2 separate regions of the Homo sapiens genome follow, and region 2 is linked to region 1. Evidence: promoter capture Hi-C in human tissues and cell types (Jung and others, 2019). All regions are on one chromosome and are shown on one strand. The core of a region is centred on a gene start or on the middle of the fragment in contact, and the rest is flanking DNA. Distances in the headings are between cores, read along the strand shown. Region 1 holds the start of PAX1 (paired box 1). Region 2 holds the start of FOXA2 (forkhead box A2).

What was found. The method cuts DNA at HindIII sites, captures the fragments that hold promoters and counts their contacts. A contact is called where the count stands out against the background at its distance.
Region 2: a contact is called between the fragment with the promoter of FOXA2 here and the fragment with the promoter of PAX1 in region 1, in 2 of the 25 tissues and cell types used here (H1 embryonic stem cells and mesendoderm cells).

What each region holds. Positions count from the first base shown.
Region 1 is chr20:21,703,270-21,708,824 of GRCh38, reverse strand. It overlaps PAX1 (paired box 1), which reads right to left and starts at 3,161. Exons shown (of 5, transcript NM_001257096.2): 1 at 2,827-3,161; 2 at 1,758-2,387; 3 at 125-267. The coding sequence starts at 3,112. LINC01726 (long intergenic non-protein coding RNA 1726) reads left to right here and starts at 5,240. Exons shown (of 5, transcript NR_109878.1): 1 at 5,240-5,503. RefSeq lists an enhancer at 5,318-5,555. The HindIII fragment of the contact is 9,805 bases long and covers 1,031-5,555 here.
Region 2 is chr20:22,582,165-22,587,719 of GRCh38, reverse strand. FOXA2 (forkhead box A2) reads left to right here and starts at 3,148. Exons shown (of 2, transcript NM_021784.5): 1 at 3,148-3,528; 2 at 4,566-5,555. The coding sequence starts at 3,442. LNCNEF (lncRNA neighboring enhancer of FOXA2) reads left to right here. Exons shown (of 3, transcript NR_109883.1): 3 at 1-198. RefSeq lists enhancers at 97-851, 852-1,607, 2,363-3,118, 4,543-5,115, 5,116-5,555. The HindIII fragment of the contact is 10,630 bases long and covers 1,470-5,555 here.

The sequences.
Region 1 (5,555 bases), core at 1,912-4,411:
GCTGCCAGATACAACCATCTCTCTGCCTGGAAATTTTTTCTTTTCTTTCTCTCTCTTTTTCCCCACTTGCCCAAACCTTCTGCTTCCCTACTTAAGGTCACGGCCTCACGTGCCTCCTGGTTACCTGAGTGTATTTAATGTCTGCCTCTAAGGCAGGTTTCTCTAGCCCATTCACTGCGGGGGTGGCGGGGAAGGCCGTGCGGTTCACGCCGGCCCAGTCTTCCATCTTGGGAGAGTAAGCGGTGCCTTCGCTCCCAGCCAGGGCCCCTGCAGGAGAGAGAGGACGGATTAAAAGGTGCCTCCGAATCTGCCCTGGGCACACGTGTGGCCAACCACCCAATTTGTATCTGAAGACACGGCCAGGGGTCCCACAAAATTTGTAGGTGGCCTGACACTCCACCAGGAGGCGGCAGGGACTGGAATGTTCACCACTCCGGGTGGGGCGGAGGAAAGGCAGCCAGGCCTGCTGCCCGGTCCTCCTAGCCTTCAACCGGTTTCCCACGAACGGGAGGCTGCTGCTGAGTCAAAGCCTGGGCAGACTCGGCCAAAGCGGCCGCTCCATTGTCCAGACACGGCTCCCAGAAACTTCCGAGTTCAAAGCTACAGCAACCTCATGAAAATTGTATTGATTTCTCAACATCTGCACAAGCCTCTGGAGGGCAGGGAGACGATTCTACGAGAACTGCCTCTGGAAACGCCCAGGGTTTCCCAAAAGAAGCGTCAACATTGTTGTCCCCACGGGTCAGATAGAAGCACACAGCTGCTCCCCGGGCCCTTGTGTGTGCCAGGAACCAAGGGAAACCTCCAGATCTGCGTGCAGGCTTGGTGGGGTCACCTCCAGACCCCTGCCATTCCATGGGAAGCTTTAGCCTTAGGCTGGGTTAGAGCCACCAGGAGACACAAAGCCAGAGCAGGGCCACAGAGGCGCTGCTGCTGCTGGAGCTGAGCACTCACAGTTTCTTTCCAGCCACCACTCTTTCCTCCTAGGCTATGGTGAATTTTGCTTCTTGCCCTCCTCCTGAGTCTGATCACCTAAGAGTGTGCCATCCCCTGGCCAGCTGCTGGCAGCTGGGGAGAGCGCAAAGAAATCCAGACCCGATTCTGGCTGGTTTCTTTCCCAGCCAGGCATCAAAGTTGTTCCAAACCTCCCGCCTTCCCCATCTTCCTCGTCACCCACTTGACCTATAGTGTGTTAAGCTTTAGTTGCAGATAAATGACAAATCCTTGTGAAGGTGGCTGCAGCCCCACCAGCCATCACCGCAAACTCCAGGACCTGCAAGGCCACAGGACCTTAGAGATGTAGGCCACTCAATCGACCACAAGATCCCTTTTCCTTTAACTCAGAAGAGCCACTGGGCCTGGGAGTGGGGGACAGAACCCTTGGGAAATCGTGAAGGATTCTGAGAGCTAAAGAAAGGGTCTCAAAATTGAGCGGGTTTTTTTCCCCCTTAGATTTGGCAACAGGGGCTTGCATACTTTTTGCAAGAATGAAAAAGCACAATTTCAGGCCTCCAAATTTGTGGTCGGCGATTGCTCTTCTATTTGGGAAATATTTTCCATATTTGTCATAAAAAGTTCAAGATGTCCGAGGTCTCTTACAAAAGGCCCAGGACCCCCAGCCTCCCTGGCCAGTGTGGAGCCCTCCCCTGAGCCAGAACCGGTCCCGGGAGGAGAGCGAGTGTGAGTCCTCTCCTGCAAGCCTGCCCGCCCCAGGTTCTGCCCCTTAATAGAAGGCTACGGAGGCCGCCACAACTGACCTGTTTGCTCCATAAACGTCCGGATGCCCAGGATGTTGCTGACCGAGTGTGCCGAGGGCCATGAGCGCGGGATGCTGACGTGGCCCGCCGTGCCCGGGACCCCGGGGTGGCTGCCCATCTTGGCGCCCGTGGGCGACACGGGACTGGGGTAGGGGTACTGGTAGATGTGGTTGTAGGGCAGCGTAGGCTGCGACGGCGGCTGCTTACTTGCCTCGTACGGTCCGGGCTGCGCCAGGCTGCCGATCTTGTTGCGCAGGATGCGGCTGATGGAGCTCACCGAAGGCACATTGTACTTGTCACAGACGCCGTCGGCCAGCAGCCGGTCGCGGATCTCCCAGGCAAAGATGCCAGGGTCTCCTTGCTTGTAGTCCCGGATGTGCTTGACCACGTTGGGAGTGGTGACGCGGGGCTTGCTCCCCCCGATGGCCCCGGGCAGAATGGAGCCGGTCTCGTTGTAGCGCGCCAGGATCTTGCTCACGCAGCCGTGGGATACGCGGAGCTGCCGACTGATGTCACAGGGTCGGATGCCCAGCTGCGCCAGCTCCACAATGCGCAAGCGGATGGCGTTGGGCAGGGGGCGGCCGTTGACGAACACACCGCCCAGCTGGTTCACCTCGCCATACGTCTGCTCTGCGGATGCGCCAGACAAGAGTGAGCCGGAGGGGGAGAAAACACCCGGCGGGTTAGCCAAGGGTCCCCACGCGGAGCGAGGGACTGCACCCAGGCGCACTTCCAAAGGTGACCTGTGGGTCCCCAGACAGCTCGGAGTCCAAGGGCAAACCGCCTGGGTCTGGCTTGGAGTGGGCAAGGGCGCAGAGGAGCCGCGGAGTGGAGCGCGGCGCATTGTAGCCCTCCGTGCCCTTTCGCGACTTTTAGCGCGTCTACTTGGAACACTCCCTTCCCAGACTTGCTCAACTGCCCCCTGAAGGCTGGGGATCAGAGGAGAATGCAGCTTCTCCAGGACCCAGGACTGGGTCGCCCAGGGAAAGCGGACGAGAGGGAAGGGAGGCAGGCGGACCCGACCCACCTCATCAGCCCTCCCGAGCCCTGCCTGTCGCCCGCCCCTTACCCATAGCGAGCGGGCCGGCCAGCTGCCTGGCGCCGGGGTGGCCGGGGTGGCCGGGGCTGGGCCCGGCGCAGTCCGGGAGAGCTTGGGCGCCGCCGCCGCCGCGTGAGAGGCATAGAGGGAGGGCGCCCGAGAGCCGAGAGCCGCGGCGGCCCAGCCGCGGGCTGGAGACGCGCTGTGCGCGGCAGCGGAGCGCGCTGCCGCCCGCTCCAGGGCCTGCCGCCGCCGCTGCTGCCCCCTCCCAGGACACTCTCCACGCCCGCGACCCCAGGCCCAGGGTGAACTTCATCCGATTGGGAGAAATTCGTCTGACCGGGAGGCTGCAGCGTGCGGGAATCAATTTGACGTGTCCTCCACGTCAATCTCGGCAGTCACGCCGGAGACGCGCGAGTTGGCAGCTCATTGGTTCCCGTCACTGCGCCCCAGCGCCCCCCTCCCCGCCCTGAAACTCTACCCCCTCCTTCTATCCTCCCCCCTCGGCCCTCTTCCACCACCCCCCCGGAACCCACCCCTCTACACACACACACACACACACACACACACACACACACACACACACGTCCCAACCCCAGCTGGGCCTGGGACCTTCCACTGCTCTGAGCCCCTTTCAGCCCCCTTCCTCCTCTAGCTTTGGGAATGAGGGGGAAGTCATCTCAAATTGATTAGTGTGTTAGTACTAGTACTCGTTTTCGTTTTGGTTTTAGTTTTATTTCCGCCACCATTAATAATAAGATAGAGAATAAAAGTTTATCGTGGAAAGGTGTTTCGGGTGTGGCTCTCTCTACCTCCCCACTCCCGGGGCAGCGGCCGGGGAAGGGTGGGATCAGTACCCCAGCTGGCTGGGAGTGTCAAGGTGAGCGTCCAGCGCGGTGCAGGGCTCCTGTCAGGAAGACACAAGGCGGAACTTGTGTCCCATTCCTGGCCAGGTCCTCAATCCTTCTCTCAGGAAATCTTCACGTTTAATAGCCAACCACTCTTGGAATAGTGGGGGTGATTTCGGTGATGCGAGAGGGGCACGGTCCAAATCCTGTCTCCTACAGCCAGGCCCAGCCACCAGAACTCATCCCTCTCCAAGCAGTGACAGAAGGGGCAGGAGGCAAAAGGATCCCGATCTGCTGCTAAGGGGCGCATAGATCCGGCGCCCTCCTGTCCCCAAGCGCGACCGGCGGGAGGCCAAATGCATAGCTCCAGCTCTAGGTCTGAAGGACAAGTTCCTTTCTCCCTGGCGGTGGAATCTCGCACCACTCTATCCCAGGTGGCCTGGCCTCGTCTTTCTCCCAGCACCTGCAGCTTCAGGAAGTCTCTGTTAAACCACAGAATGGTCATTTCTCCTTCATTTAAATGAGGTTTTGCGCAGCCCTGAATTATTCACCCCTGAGATTGAACATCAACAATTTCTCTGTTTCTACCCTGCACCAAAGCAGTTCTGAACTCCCCAACCTGTGCAGCTAACTGTGTCCGGGAGCCATGCGGTGAGGGCCAAGAGGAGGAAACTCGTGGTTTTGAACATGAACTGATTTGAGGGGGTCAGGATCTGAGAGCTCTGAGGTTGAGCCCAGTAAGCACCAAAGGCATTGGGCTGAATGTGCTAGACCAGGAAGAGGGCATAGGGGAGAGAGTAGGAACAGCCGAGGTTTCTGAGACTCCCAGCGCTCCCCTGGAGGAGAGAACCCTCTTCCCCTCCCTCCTGCCCACCCCAAGGGTCTAGCTCTCCTTAGCCACCCAGAGTTGAGTATGGCGCCAGCGCGGTGACAGTGGCTGAGGAGCACATGGACCCTATCAGCCCACCCTGGGGAGCCATGGCTGCGGAGGCCCCGACCCCTTTGCCTCCGCTGTAGGGCCAGAGAGCATCCCTGGCTCCTAATCCACCTGTCTAAATGTATCTGTCAGGAGTGACTGGCTCATAATTCCTGGACTCTCTAGAGAGAGCACGCGGTGGGGCCACAGACAAGAATTACTCCTGGAAAAAGAAAAATCAGGTTTAAAAGAAGTGAACTCTTCCTCTCCGGCGGCATGAACACAGTACAGTCTCTGGCTCTGGGAGGTCCTGGAGACCTGGAGGAGGTTTGAGGGTCAGTGCACTGGCAGGAGGGTGCGAGAGTGGGAGCAGGGGAAGCTATGTAGAAGATTAGGCCTGTCCATGACAGCGTAGGTTTGGAGTAAGGAACAGGGAAAGGGAATGGTTTGGATTAAAGTGGGCACGCCTAAGCCAGGAGTTCCGCGAAGGCAGCGAAGAGAGGACTAAGCACGCACAGTATGCTCGGGGCTCCGGGGGTGCGGGGAGTGGGGACGCACCCTGCCCAGTGCTCTCCATTGCGGAATCTGCTAGCTTCGTCGGGCGCGAGATACCAAGAAAGGTTGATTTCCAGACCTTGGAGTCTCTGAGATAAAGGAACGCCACATCCCTGCCTCAGTCCAGTGGATACTCGTGATCCGGAAAAGCAGCTAAAGCCGCTTCTTCCCCCCAGTAGGTGAGGAGTCAACAGGCACACTCTAAAGACGAGGAAATAAAGCCGGTCGTGACACCGTGAGAGCTGGTTCGCCCAACTACCCTTTCAGGGGAACGTCCACCCCACCTCTGCTGCCGAGCTTGGAAAAGTGGCAAGGAGTCGCAGTCCAGGACAAAACTCCGCCCCCGTCCCCGTGAAGGCCGCCCGTGGCTGGGGGCTACTGTAGAGGGGTGAGTCTGGGGATTGCGCACGATGAGAGGGGGTGGTTCTCCCCGGTAGCAG
Region 2 (5,555 bases), core at 1,899-4,398, 880 kb before region 1:
TCATGTGACAAAGAGAGCTCTAGGGAGGACTTTTGCTAGGGGAACGCAGATTGTTCCAGCAAGATGAAGGCCTAGGAGACCTGGATGGCCTGGGTGTTTTCTTCCCAGGGAGAGCAGAGGAGGCCTGGATTTGAACTCGAGTCTTATGACTTTGCCATTGAGGCAACATCCAAAATAAAAATAGCATGCTAACCCCAAGCACAGTCCTCAGTTATAAAGCAGCTTTATTATAGAAGCCGGCGGTGACCTAACAAAATGGAAAGGGAAGGGCTCTGTAGGTCTCGGCCCTACATGAGGGTAGACTAAAGAGGGATTGGGAGAAACATCTGCAGCCCGAGGTCCCCGCGAACTTTTTCCTGGAGAGAAACTCCGGGAGCAATCTTCAGCATTCAAGCCTGAGCCAGAACTCTGGATAGCCCTTTAGAAATCAGAACTCCGGGAAGGAGGAGCTCCAAAGACCGCTGAGCTGGAAGGGAACGCGAACCCCAGGCTGTCTGAACGTCCCTGCTTCCTTCGCAGCCCGTTGGTGTCCCGCTCCCAGCTACCTAAAGCTAACCGTAGACCCCGCTCGCATTCCCATGGGCAGGCGTGCCGGGAGGGTGCGGGAGCGGCTGCTCCGAGACTCTAGGAGGCGTCATCCAGCCCTACCCTACCGGAGCTCCCAGAACCTCGCCAGGGTGCAGGAGGCCGTTTTGGGTTCGCGCAGAACCTAGGGGTTGGGGCTCCAAAAAGGCCGAGTCCCCCCGAAGGCGTTTTCGGAGAGACTGGGAGAGCGGGGGAGAAGGTGCTCCGGTGCCGGAGCTGCGGGGTTGGGATCGCGGGGGTAAATGAGGACTCGGGTCGGTCCCGCGGGCCTGGCGGCCGACAGGGGGCGCCCTGTCACTGTGGAAGCCCCCGCCGAGCGCTCTCTGGTGTCCCTGACCCCGGCCACCAATAGTGCTGTGGTGGAGGTGGGGGCTTCCAAAGTCCGCTCCTTGGAAGTGTAGCGCCCCCTTCTCCTGCGGCCCTCCAGCTCGCTCCTTCTGTTCCTGGAATAATTTCTGGGACCAAATTTCCACCCAGGAGCAAAATAGAAAGGGAAGTGGGCACCCACATAAGCTCACAAATACTCTCATACAGCACACGCACAGACTAGGTCAACCATAACATTCTTTTGAGTTTTGGGGGTGCGGTGTGTGTGTGTGTGCGTGTGTGTCTGCCCAGGCCTGCGGAGAAAGCTTTGAAAAATTGCTCATTCTTTGAGCTCCAATGCTTACTCCTCTTTCCCTGCCCTCGGTGGAGTGATGAAGTTGCTCCCATCCACGCGCTAGGTGGGACCCCGTGGGAAATGCTGGGGATCTAGCCCCTCTGACTCCGCTGCGCACACCTCCACGTTCACTACGTAGCCGTACACACCATCAAGCTCCTTCCCTGGCGCACCGGGCTGGCCTGCCCCTCGTGGGAGCCTTCAGCACTCGGGGGACCGATAGGCACGGCTTCCGCGGAGATACAGACCTTGAATTTGTGGGAGAATCCCGCCCTGGCGCTCACTCGGCGGGCTTATTAATGCCCTCTTTATGAAGTGTCCAAACCATCTGCATTTCAGCAGCAAAAGATGCTGCCGGCGGCTTCCTTCTGTGTCCCAAACCGTGCAGACCTGAGAGTCCTGGGGTTAGGGAAGTGGTTCCCCTGTGCCTACTGCTACCTCCTCGCTTGCCTTCCAGCCTCACCCTTACTCAAGCTTCAATGCGAAGCTCCGTGTCTGCCATCTCGCCTGTCTTCTGCCACCATCGCCCCCAATTTTGGACAGGTGGGCTGGATGCCCACTAGTTCCTATGCATTCTCTGTGTCTGAGGGGGTGGGTACAGGGCTGGATCCCCAAGGTCCAGCCAGGTTTTCAGAACCAAGAAAGAGCCTCCACATCCAAACACCTGCAATATCCCCCCACTCCAAATCTGGGCTCACAGGCTAACCCAGAACAGAAGACAATTTTTGAACCCAAGAGCTGCTGGGGAAATAAAAGTATACGATTGCTGGAGTTTCTAATTTCTATTAAGCAGTCCCTCTGGAAGACAGAGAGGACAGAGACGCTCTTGAAGTCAACTCCATATGCCCCATCATTGATTCCTGGATTCTTCTCTCCTCACCCCTCCCTCCCCACCTCCTGCCCTGTTTGTTTTAGTTACGAAATGCTGTGGGCACCTCGGTTGTGACTGAAAAGTAACCTTGAAACACGCCGGCCTGAATATCAGAGACAAATCTCAGCCTCCCAACCGTCGGCCGCTGCTAGAGGGGCTGCTTGCGCCAGGCGCCGGCCGCCCCACTGCGGGTCCCTGGCGGCCGGTGTCTGAGGAGTCGGAGAGCCGAGGCGGCCAGACCGTGCGCCCCGCGCTTCTCCCGAGGCCGTTCCGGGTCTGAACTGTAACAGGGAGGGGCCTCGCAGGAGCAGCAGCGGGCGAGTTAAAGGTGTGTACGTAGTTTTTCTAAATAGGACAGCGCTTTGCAAATTGGCTGTCATGGACTTGCTGTTTTGACAGAGAATGAGCACTGAGAGCGAAGAAACCCGGCATAAATAAATCCGGCTTTCATAGGGATCTGCCGGGCACTGAGGCTGGACGCGCCCTCCGACAGGCGCACCGGGCGCCCGGCGCGATGAGACGGGGCGGGGGCTGGAGGCCGGAGCCGCCCCAGAGGGTGGTTTCCTCCCAGGTCCCTCCTTCCTCAGGGGACTCGCTGTGGACCCGGGAGGAAAGGGGGCTCGACCAGGGATCCCGCGTGCCCGATCGCCCGCCCAGCCCGCTCCCCTGGCCCGCCCAGGAGTGCGGGGCGCCGCGGCGGTGGGGCGGACGGCAGGCGCTGAGGGGCAGGTGCGGAGCGCCGGCTGCGGCTACCTCTCACCTAGGTGTGAGCTGATTATTCAAATGGGCTGCCCCGGGTCTGGGGATTGGAGGCCCGCGCCAGCGCGCCGCGCTATATCACCAGCCTCCCACGTCACTGCGGCACTTGTCCGCTCCGCGGTCCACACCTCCTCCTCCTCCTCCTCCTCCTCCTCCTCCTCCTCCTCCTCCACCACCACCACCGCCTCCTCCTCCTCCTTCCTCCTCCTCCTCCCCACCCCCCCACTAGCCCCCGCGCCGCGCGCTTCCCGCCGCCTCGGGGCAGCTCGGCACTGCCAACCTCAGCCGCCACCCGGCAGCCCGTGAGCGCGGCGGCGGCGGGTGCTCCCTACCGCGGGGCGCTGGCCTGGGCCTCCTCCGCTCCTCGCCCCCCCCCACCTCCCGCCCACTTCCAACTACCGCCTCCGGCCTGCCCAGGGAGAGAGAGGGAGTGGAGCCCAGGGAGAGGGAGCGCGAGAGAGGGAGGGAGGAGGGGACGGTGCTTTGGCTGACTTTTTTTTAAAAGAGGGTGGGGGTGGGGGGTGATTGCTGGTCGTTTGTTGTGGCTGTTAAATTTTAAACTGCCATGCACTCGGCTTCCAGTATGCTGGGAGCGGTGAAGATGGAAGGGCACGAGCCGTCCGACTGGAGCAGCTACTATGCAGAGCCCGAGGTAAGCGCTCGTCTTTTCCAGGGGGAAGTGGAGCGGCGGCGCTCGCTCCTTCCCCAACCTCAGGACCGCTTCCCTCGCTGGCACCCCCCCACCCCGCCCCACAACCCCAGCCTTTCTGGGCAGCCGCCTTTTCCGCCCTCCTTGGAATCAAATGGGTCTCTTTTTTATACGACACACTGTTAGCCTTGAGATAATATTAACTTTGTGATCAAATATTGACTTGCGGCGCCTCCAAATCCTCTTCGTGGCCGAGCCACGCACTATCCTAACAGAGTTATGTTTGGCAGCGCGCGGCTGGGGAGGGGTGGGAGGTCGGCCGGCGAGGGGGTGGGGAGCTGAGGAGGAGAAGATGGGTAGGAGTTGGGGGCTGAAGTGGAGGCAGAGTCAAAGACTAGTGGACAAAGAGAAAGAAAGTTTTTGCCTGCAAAGCTCAGCCGCGTGTGGTTCAGGTCTCGGTTCTTTCCCTATTGCCCCGTTCAGTGCCTCCAGCCGCCCCCGCACTCCGCACAGGCACTGCCTTGCAGTTTCCCTGGGACAAGGGAGGGGGTCCCTGGAGGGAGACCGGACAGAGGGGGCCCGGGACAGTCTTCGCTGGAGGCAGCCCGAGGCGCCCCGCGCGTTGTCCCGCAGGTTGCTTGCTGCGACCGGAGGTGGCGTCCGGGGACTTCGGGCCTCGGCGCCAGCTCAGTATGCTGGTGGGAGAGTTTGGGGAGACTCTGGGGTAGGGGAATGTATTTGGGGTGCTGGCTTGGGAGTACTCCATGGGACCCCTGTTCTAGAATCTGGGCGAGGTGGAGAAGGGCTAGGAACGGGCCACATGCCCAAGCAGCAATCCGCTCGCCACCTTCCCAAGGGCGATCGATCATGACTCTCCCTGAATGAAACAGACTCGGAGTCCGGAGACTGGGCCATCGGGGACGAAAGGGCTCCCCGGAGGCCTCCCCGGACGCGGAGGCCTGGGCGGTGGGTGGGAGGTCTGGGCACCCTCCAGCCGCGGTGCTAACGCTGTCGCCTCCCTCCCGGGGCTCTGTCCGCAGGGCTACTCCTCCGTGAGCAACATGAACGCCGGCCTGGGGATGAACGGCATGAACACGTACATGAGCATGTCGGCGGCCGCCATGGGCAGCGGCTCGGGCAACATGAGCGCGGGCTCCATGAACATGTCGTCGTACGTGGGCGCTGGCATGAGCCCGTCCCTGGCGGGGATGTCCCCCGGCGCGGGCGCCATGGCGGGCATGGGCGGCTCGGCCGGGGCGGCCGGCGTGGCGGGCATGGGGCCGCACTTGAGTCCCAGCCTGAGCCCGCTCGGGGGGCAGGCGGCCGGGGCCATGGGCGGCCTGGCCCCCTACGCCAACATGAACTCCATGAGCCCCATGTACGGGCAGGCGGGCCTGAGCCGCGCCCGCGACCCCAAGACCTACAGGCGCAGCTACACGCACGCAAAGCCGCCCTACTCGTACATCTCGCTCATCACCATGGCCATCCAGCAGAGCCCCAACAAGATGCTGACGCTGAGCGAGATCTACCAGTGGATCATGGACCTCTTCCCCTTCTACCGGCAGAACCAGCAGCGCTGGCAGAACTCCATCCGCCACTCGCTCTCCTTCAACGACTGTTTCCTGAAGGTGCCCCGCTCGCCCGACAAGCCCGGCAAGGGCTCCTTCTGGACCCTGCACCCTGACTCGGGCAACATGTTCGAGAACGGCTGCTACCTGCGCCGCCAGAAGCGCTTCAAGTGCGAGAAGCAGCTGGCGCTGAAGGAGGCCGCAGGCGCCGCCGGCAGCGGCAAGAAGGCGGCCGCCGGAGCCCAGGCCTCACAGGCTCAACTCGGGGAGGCCGCCGGGCCGGCCTCCGAGACTCCGGCGGGCACCGAGTCGCCTCACTCGAGCGCCTCCCCGTGCCAGGAGCACAAGCGAGGGGGCCTGGGAGAGCTGAAGGGGACGCCGGCTGCGGCGCTGAGCCCCCCAGAGCCGGCGCCCTCTCCCGGGCAGCAGCAGCAGGCCGCGGCCCACCTGCTGGGCCCGCCC